Linked DNA regions of Homo sapiens: all the other regions are linked to region 3. Evidence: promoter capture Hi-C in human tissues and cell types (Jung and others, 2019). All regions are on one chromosome and are shown on one strand. The core of a region is centred on a gene start or on the middle of the fragment in contact, and the rest is flanking DNA. Distances in the headings are between cores, read along the strand shown. Region 1 has its middle 9.3 kb from the start of WNK1. Region 2 overlaps B4GALNT3 (beta-1,4-N-acetyl-galactosaminyltransferase 3). Region 3 holds the start of SLC6A13 (solute carrier family 6 member 13).

Region 1 (2,705 bases), core at 10-2,509, 480 kb after region 3:
ACGCCCAGCAAATTTTTGTATTTTTAGTAGAGACAGGGTTTTGCCATGTTGGCCAGGCTGGTCTCGAACTCCTGAGCTCAGGTGATTCACTCACCTTGGCCTCCCAAAGTGCTGGGATTACAGGTGTGAGCCACTGCACCTGGCCGAGACTACTATTTAAAGAGTATTATTACTGTCTTAAGAGAATGTATACTTCTATCTACTGAGAAGTATTACCTGCTATAGAGTTTGGCACTCTTTTCCTAATTCCCAGCTATTCTAAGGGAGTCAATTTACCATATCTTCAATTGGTCCAAACACAGGCAGACGCTGGAAGATGATAATATTATTGCTGTTGTTGAATTTGCTAAATACTCTTTTTGGTTACAGAATTAACCTGACTGTAGAGGTTAATTAAGCAAAGTATGTTCAGTAAAATTATCTTAAGATTCAGAAAATTGGCTGGGCGCGGTGGCTAACGCCTGTAATCCCAGCACTTTGGAAGGCCGAGGTGGGCAGATCACCTGAGGTCGGGAGTTCGAGACCAGACTGGCCAGCATGGTGAAACCCCATTTCTACTAAAAATACAAAAATCGGCCAGGCGTGGTGGTAGGTGCCTGTAATCCCAGCTACTCGGGAAGCTGAGGCAGGAGAGTTGCTTGAACCTGGGTGGCGGAGGTTGCAGTGAGCTGAGATTGCGCCATTGCACTCTAGGCTGGGCGACAGGGCAAGACTCCGTCTCAAAAAAAAAAAGATTCAAAAAATTATCACTGAATGTCAAATTATGAATATATAAGTAGCATACAGAATGTGCCTTGATCATAAATGACTAAATAATGTAAGCAAACTCTTAGAGATCATAAGGAGTTGGGAAGCTTGTCCTTCTATTTACTGGTAAGGAGGTACTCAGGTGAACATTATGTTCAGAATCTTTTCAATATCTGTCTTGATAGCTATCCCTATCCCTCCCAACCATCGAAATGGATGAAAATGACCATTGCTTAAAGGTTTTTCAAACTGAATTAGTAATATCATTTTTTCATTTTTACCATAGAGTGTATGTAGACTTTTCAGGTAGGTTTCATATCTCTTGGGTATTGAGACAAATAGTTTGTAAGCAGAATAGGATGCTTTATAGAGTATTCAATAATTCAATATTATGTTTCAATAATTTTGGCACAACTAAATATCATTTTAAAAATCTGATTTCTTGAAGAATAACTTATATACAATAAAAAATTGCCCATTTAAAGTATAGTCAGGGCCAGGTGCGGTGGCTCACACCTGTAATCCCAGCACTTTGGGAGACCAAGTTGGGATAATCATTAACATAGCAAGATCCCCGTCTCTACGAAAAAAAAAAAATTAGCTTGGCATGGTGGTGTGCATCTGTAGTCCCAGCTACTCAGGAGGCTGAGGCCTGAGGATCCCTTGAGCCCAGGAATTTGAGGCTGTGATGAGCTATGATTGCACCACAGCACTCTAGCCTGGGCAACAGAGCAAGACCCTGTCCTTAAAAAAAAAAGTATAATCACCCACTTAATGAGTTTTGAATGAATACAGTCATGTAACCATCACCAAAATTAAGACAGAAAACATTCTCGTGACTCAAAAAGTTCTCTGCGCTCCTCTGCAGTTCATTTCCTCCCCCTCTAACCCCAGAACTGATCATTCTGCCGCCAGTTTTGGGTTTTCTACATGGCCACATAAATGAAATCAGTAGACTTCTGTGTCTGGCTTCTTTCATTTAGCATCATGCTTTGGGAGTTATCCATATGATTGCACATACCACTTCGTTTATTTTTATTGCTGAGTAGCATTCCATCATAAGGGCACAACACAATTTACTTGCCTGTTCACCAGTTGATAGATATTCGGTTTGTTTCTAGTTTTTGGCTATCATGAGTAAAATTGTTATGAAATTTTCCATGCAAGTCTTTGTGTGGACATGTTTCCATTTCTCTTGGGTTAAATATCTGGCAGTGGAATTGCTAGATCATGTGGTAAGTATATGTTCAACTTTAATTATTAGAGAGTCAAGCTATTTCCCAAACTGGCTGAACCACTGTACTCCCGGTAGCAACGTATGAGAAACTAGTTGCTCTACATCCTCACCAACCATTTTTAATTTTAGTCATTTTCGTGGGTATGTGGTGATATTTCATGGTAATTTTAATTTTCACTTCCTTAATGACTAATGATGTACATCTTTTCATGTGCCTATTTATCCTTTCATTTATATTGTTTGGTGAAGTATCTGTTCAAATCTTTTGCACACATTTTTACTGTACTATTATCTTAAGGTTGAATTGTAAGAGTTTCCTATATATTCTGTTTACAAATATTTTTTCAGATATTTGTTTTGCAATATTGACTCCCAGTCTGTGGCCCTTTCATTTTTGTAATATCATCTTTAAAGAACAAACATTTCTGGCTGGGCACGGTGGTTCACACCTGTAATCCCAGCACTTTGGGAGGCTGAGGCAGGAAGATTCCTTGAGCCCAGGAGTTTGAGACCAGCCTAGGTAACACAGGAAGACCTTGTCTCTACTCTGTAAAAAACAAACCAAACAAAAAAGAACACGAACTTCCAATTTTGATGAAGTCCAGTTTAACAATTTTTTCTTTTATGGTTTGTGCTTTTTGTGTCCTAAAAAGTCTTTTATTTTTATTTTCTGTAGAGACAGGGTTTTGCTATTTTGCCCAAGCTGGTCTTGAACTCCCGG
Region 2 (2,700 bases), core at 114-2,613, 270 kb after region 3:
TTTCAGCGTGCAGCCCCTGATCCCACCCCTCCCCAGGCCTGTTACAGAAACACTCGTGCATAGCGTGGGTGGCCACCTTCGGTGAAGCCCATATTCGTGGGTGGTGCTCTGTGTTCTGTGTCTGCGTGGCTGTCTGTGTCTCTGCTGGTGCTCACGTAGGGGTTCCTCTGTGACACTTCTGCCTACTGTCGACTCTTGGCTCCCAGGGGTCGGGGACTGTCAGGCTAATTCCGTCTAAGCAGTGCCCAGCGCAGCATCCTGGGGACATCGTGGTGAAGCTGTTGAGGGAAAGGGGAGCTCAGTGGAAATCCGTGGCACACTGGGGTCCTAGTCTTAGCCTTGCCACTACTTGCTAAGTGAGCCTTGATCAGCCATTTGACCAGTGTGGGTCCCATTTTCCTCACTTGAAGGGAGGATGAGGTGATCTCAAAAGCCTCTTTCGCTTCCAGTGGTCTACGGTTCTGGTTTGTGACTAACAGTGGTTTGGTTCCACTTATCCAAAGCCCAGCAATCTCCTCTGAGATGGGAGTCCCAGCCCTCGGGAGTGTCAGCAGTGGCCGGCCGCCGGACTGATTCTCCCCGGCCCTCACCCTGGTGCAGCCCCTTGCCTCCTGACTTGTGAATGCGCGTGCACCCCCCAGTTTCCTGTTCCCTCCCTCCCTCTCGCCATGGTTTGGCTTTTTGCCTTCCCAGGTGCGTGTAAGCCAACCTGGTCCAGAGCCTTCAGGGTACAGACAGCGTCAGCCACACGCAGCCTCCCGGTGACTCCAGTAATAGCAGGGCCTCTGATCTTGTATCTCCAGTGGTTTATACCTTTGTTTGACAGACATCACATCCCAGGCCCACTCTTTCCTGCCTCTCTCAGCTCCGGCTCTATCCAGCAACCCAGTGATCAGTGGTAGGGGGTCCCCACCCATTAGTAAGCCTCTGCTGTTCCCCGGGCTCAGGGCACAGAAACTGAGCAGGAAGGGAAGAGTGTACCGCCTGTCACGACCATCTCTCCACGGCAGCTCTCGGGATAAATTGGCCTCCAGAGGCAGCCGGGGGAGAACGAGCTGGTAGTGGGAGGCCCGTGGTCCAGGCTCACCTGGACTGGCTCCTTCTCTGGTTTCTGGAAGGCGGTGACTGCTGATGGGATGTAAGCTCATCTCCTCTCTCTGCCCTGTGGGCCTTGGCCAGTCTGCAGCTATCTCCTGCCCCCAGCCCAGCCCTCTTCCCACCCACCCTCTGAAGAGAGGTGAGAAGGGAAGACGGTTCCCTCCATTAACCTCCCAAATCTTTTAGGTGTATGAGGTTTCCAGGTTACGCTGACCTGAGGGCTCCTCTCTTCCCCTTCCACAGGGTACGGCAGCTGGAGAGAACTGGCCAAGGCTCTGGCCAGCAGGAACATTCCAGCTGTGGATCCACACCTCCAGTTCTACCATCCCCAGAGGCTGAGCCTCGAGGTAGGTGACCAGCCAGTCCATTGTCCCTGCTGATGCCTTAACAAAGGTCCGCAGGTGCTCTGCCCAGTTGCCTTAAGGGTAACCTCTGCTACTCTGGGAGGAGAGGCAGAGGATAAACAGCCCCCAGAGTCCTAGTCTGGCCTCAGGACCTCCTAGCTGAGCCTTAGAGATGTCCATCCAGCCTCCTCAAAGCCAGTAAAAGGAAACTTTTACTGGGGCTGCCACTGGGCCTGGTTTTCTGGTGTCTGCCCTCGTTCCCTAGTTCAGTTTGCCCGTGCCGGAACCACTCCGGGCCTGCGACCTCCATCACCAGTGGCATGTGGTGCCTCTCACTAGGGTGAGGGCTGGGCTGTGCTGTGCTTGCTGCTGAGATCAGAGGTGACGAGGTGGATGGACACCCCTCCCTGCCCGTAGCTGGGAGTACAGACTTGTGGTGGAGCATTTGCCTGCAGTGCTTCTTGAACCAATGGTCCCTAAGGAGGCAGATTAGAGAAACTGGGGTCTAATTCATTCAGGAGCCCCAAGGCTGAGCCTAGAACAGACATGGATTCCAGAGCTGGACCAGAGCCAAACTGAACCTGTGGACCTGCACAATAGGGAGGGTTTGGTGGTGTCCCTGAGGGGCTCCCACTTGTTGGAACCCAAATCTATACAGCTGGGGGATAAGGAGGAAGAGGGAGCCGAGGTCCCTGCCCTCAAGAGGTCCTGACCTAAAGAGGGTAAACTGCTTTCCCATATGGGGAGGACAGAAAATTCAGAAAAGTGAAGGAACCCGAGGAGCAGGCGCTGATGAAACTATGGAGATGTATTCCCAGGACATGGTGTGAATGACAGACGGCAGCGTGCTCCGAGCCGACGCCTCCTGGGAGCAGGCACTGTGCCTCCTGTCCTGCCCGTAGCTTCTCATCCTAATATTCCTACCAACTTCGTTCTTCATTCTTCCCCTAGGACCACGACATTGACCAAGGGGTGAGCAGTAACAGCAGCTACTTGAAGTGGAACAAGCCTGTCCCCTGGCTCTCAGAGGTGAGGGACTTTCTATTGTACCTGCCCTTTGAGAGAGCTAAAAAATAATGTTTACAGATAATTCCAGAGATCACAGAAAACTTTCTACTAGGGACCTTCTACCGTACCTACTCTTTGAGAGAGCTAAAAAATAATGTTTATGGATAATTCCAGAGATCACAGAAAACTTTCTACTAGTGAATTAAAAAAATTTTTAAATTATTTATTCAGTTAGTTTTTTGTTGTTGTT
Region 3 (2,766 bases), core at 58-2,557:
ACTTTTTTCTAAGCCTCAAGCAAAGTTCATGTTAACAGAACTTTCTCAGCAGTAACCTCTTCTGGCCACAGACTCTACTTTGGCTCTGACCCAGAAAATTAGAAAGTCAGTGAACAGGCCGGGTGCAATGGCTCACGCCTGTAATCCCAGCACTTGGGAGGCCGAGGCGGGTGGATCTCCTGAGGTCAGGAGTTTGAGACCAGCCTGGCCAACATGGTGACACCCCGTCTCTACGAAAAGTACAAAAATTAGCTGGGCATGGTGGCAGGCACCTGTAATCCCAGCTACTCAGGAGGCTGAGGCAGGAGAATCGCTTGAAACCAGGAGGCAGAGGTTGCAGTGAGCCGAGATCGCGCCACTGCACTCCAGTCTGGGCAACAAAGCGAGACTCTGTCTCAAAAAAAAGAAAAAAAAAAAAAGTCAGGGAACAGCAGGCATCTATGTTTATCTGATAAATTAGGGAATGAGCTCCTTTCTACAAAGGAGAAACTCAAGTAACTGGTCCCAAGAGGGCTCCTCAGTCCTTTTGGGAAGGTTGTCTAAGGTACTGACTGTGCTGGCCTCCCCTCCCTTTACCAGCTGATGGATCTCTCCCAGTGATGGAAAGCCTTCCCTTCTCCACCCTCCCAGACCCTAGGAGAAACAGTAGCCTTCTCCTGGCTCCCTTAGCCTCATTAGAGCTGCTTCTCAGAGGTAGCATGTTGTGTCTGAAAGGTCATGAGCTGTAGAGTCAGATGAGGCCAGGTTCAAACATTAGTTTTTTCTCATACCAATGTCTGACTTCAGAGAAGTTAATGAATGACTCTGAGCCTTAGTTTGTTCATCTGTAAAAGTGGGGATGATAGATAGGATATACTTAGCTATAAGAATTAAATGAGGAAATATACATATGTATACACACTTAATAGAATAACAGGTACTCAAATTTTTGTTTTCTTTCAGTCCTGTCAGAGTTGATCATTGTTCTCTTTTCTCAGAGAAGAAAGACTTTGTTTTCTTGGAGTTAAATCCAGTTGTCTTTCCTCTCAATCTAGGGCTCTCTCTTTCCAAATCACAGTGTCACTTAAGTCAACAGCCACCCAAGTTTCAGAAAGTCAAGAAAATAGCACATAATCTTTGCATTTGCACACATACATGTCAGAAGCGTACTTTCTAGGCGAGGGTAAGAAAAAAGTCCTTTGGTTGTAAGTCCCATGGATCCCACCAACCTGCAGTCTGAGACGCAGAAATAGAAAAAAAAGAGAAGAAAACATTTCGAACCTTAGTGAAGCTGCTGCCAGAGGTCCAGTCAGGGGAGAAGAATTATCTAAGGGGGAAGGAGAAGGTGCTGGCTATTTAAAGTGTGGTTCCAGAACGCCTCTGTGGCACTTGAAATTCTAAACTTGGCCCAGCCCACATTCCACCCTTGTGCCTCCCCCTCCCCTTTTCTCCCCTCCCCTCCCCTCGGCCACTGGACAACCCACACATGAGTGATTTCGCAGTCTGGGGAGTGTGCACGCCCTGGCAGGTCGGGCCAGTTGCTGGTGAGCTTATGAAGTGTGGTCTCCTCCCCGGAGCTCATGTGCGCTTCCCACCTGGTGAGCTCAGGGTCTCTCTGGAGGGATCCTGCCTCCCACCCCTGTCTCCAACACAAGTGCTCCTATAAATCCATCAAGAATAGGTATTCCTTTGGTCAGGTGCTGTGTAGATTAATTTAAAAATACATTTATCTTACCGTTTCGCAGCTTGCAATGTGGAATGGACGATGATTTAGAACAAAGATACATAGATACAGAACTCTGAGATGTCAGAAAAACTTCCCAAACATACACAGACATTTATACACATATAGAAAAAGTCTGAAAAAATCTTCGCTAAATGATTAATAGTAGTTACATTTGTAGAGTGGAACTGAGATCAGGAGATGGCAGTAAGGGAGATTTTTTCCCCACTTTTTCAATATTGTTTAGATTTTTTAATATGCTAGAATTTTAAAATATTTTTTAAATCAATAGAGAAAAGGAAGTGCCAACGTTTAAAATAAAGCAAAGCCCTAAAGCTGTTATAAGGGAAGGAGCAGGCGGTGAGCGCGAGGCCGAGGTCATCCAGGGAGCTTCGTTTCTCTGCAGGAACAGCCCACAGAGGCGGCTGTGAGAGTAGTTCATTCAGCCTGGAGTCTAGGACAGGGCAGAGTCCCACCTCAGCCATGTGCTGAAGCACAGTACATGTAGTGGAAACCTGCTCAGACTTTGACACCAGAGAGTGTGGGGTCTGAGTCCTACGTATGCCACTGTCTAGCTTGAGATTTCAGGAGATGATGACTAACTGTAAATGGCAGCTGTTATTCATCCTTAAGGGATTATTCACAGTGAGCAGTGAGCCCGGAAGTCTTCTTGAAGGAGACGGGACTGAGAGACCCCTGAGCTAAGCTGGGCTCTGGCCAGACTGTGAGAATGAGTTAGGTAGGGGATGCGGCAATGAGTGAGTGAGGTGATAGAGACATCTTGAGATGACGGAGAAGTGTGGAAAGAAAGACGGATCGAAGAGTCTAAGGTAGTTTCCGTTTCCTTGATCCCTCATCTAACTCAAGGGCATGGGGTAGGGGCATGGAAACACTGCATGGTAATACCTGGAGAGCTTCCCAGAAGCTTCTTGGAAATTATTATTCTTATGTTTCAGCGGCCCCTGTTCCTCTCCCCTTTCAAGCTTTCATCTGTTAGACTGAGCTCTGTAAAGCAATAAACCAAAAGCGTCCTGAGACAGCCTACAAACTCATGTAAAAAAAAG

What was found. Contacts are between HindIII fragments. The study calls those that stand out against the background at their distance.
Region 1: a contact is called between a fragment that was not itself captured here and the fragment with the promoter of SLC6A13 in region 3, in 2 of the 25 tissues and cell types used here (dorsolateral prefrontal cortex and liver).
Region 2: a contact is called between a fragment that was not itself captured here and the fragment with the promoter of SLC6A13 in region 3, in 2 of the 25 tissues and cell types used here (lymphoblastoid cells and spleen).

What each region holds. Positions count from the first base shown.
Region 1 is chr12:741,941-744,645 of GRCh38, forward strand. No RefSeq gene overlaps it. Among named protein-coding and RNA genes, the nearest start is that of WNK1, 9.3 kb to the right of the region's middle. RefSeq lists an enhancer at 1,416-1,535. The HindIII fragment of the contact is 8,426 bases long and covers 1-2,705 here.
Region 2 is chr12:533,825-536,524 of GRCh38, forward strand. B4GALNT3 (beta-1,4-N-acetyl-galactosaminyltransferase 3) reads left to right here. Exons shown (of 20, transcript NM_173593.4): 2 at 1,342-1,445; 3 at 2,394-2,471. Among named protein-coding and RNA genes, the nearest start is that of B4GALNT3, 75 kb to the left of the region's middle. RefSeq lists an enhancer at 611-1,110. The HindIII fragment of the contact is 4,738 bases long and covers 1-2,700 here.
Region 3 is chr12:261,529-264,294 of GRCh38, forward strand. SLC6A13 (solute carrier family 6 member 13) reads right to left here and starts at 1,308. Exons shown (of 15, transcript NM_016615.5): 1 at 1,261-1,308. The HindIII fragment of the contact is 8,106 bases long and covers 1-2,766 here.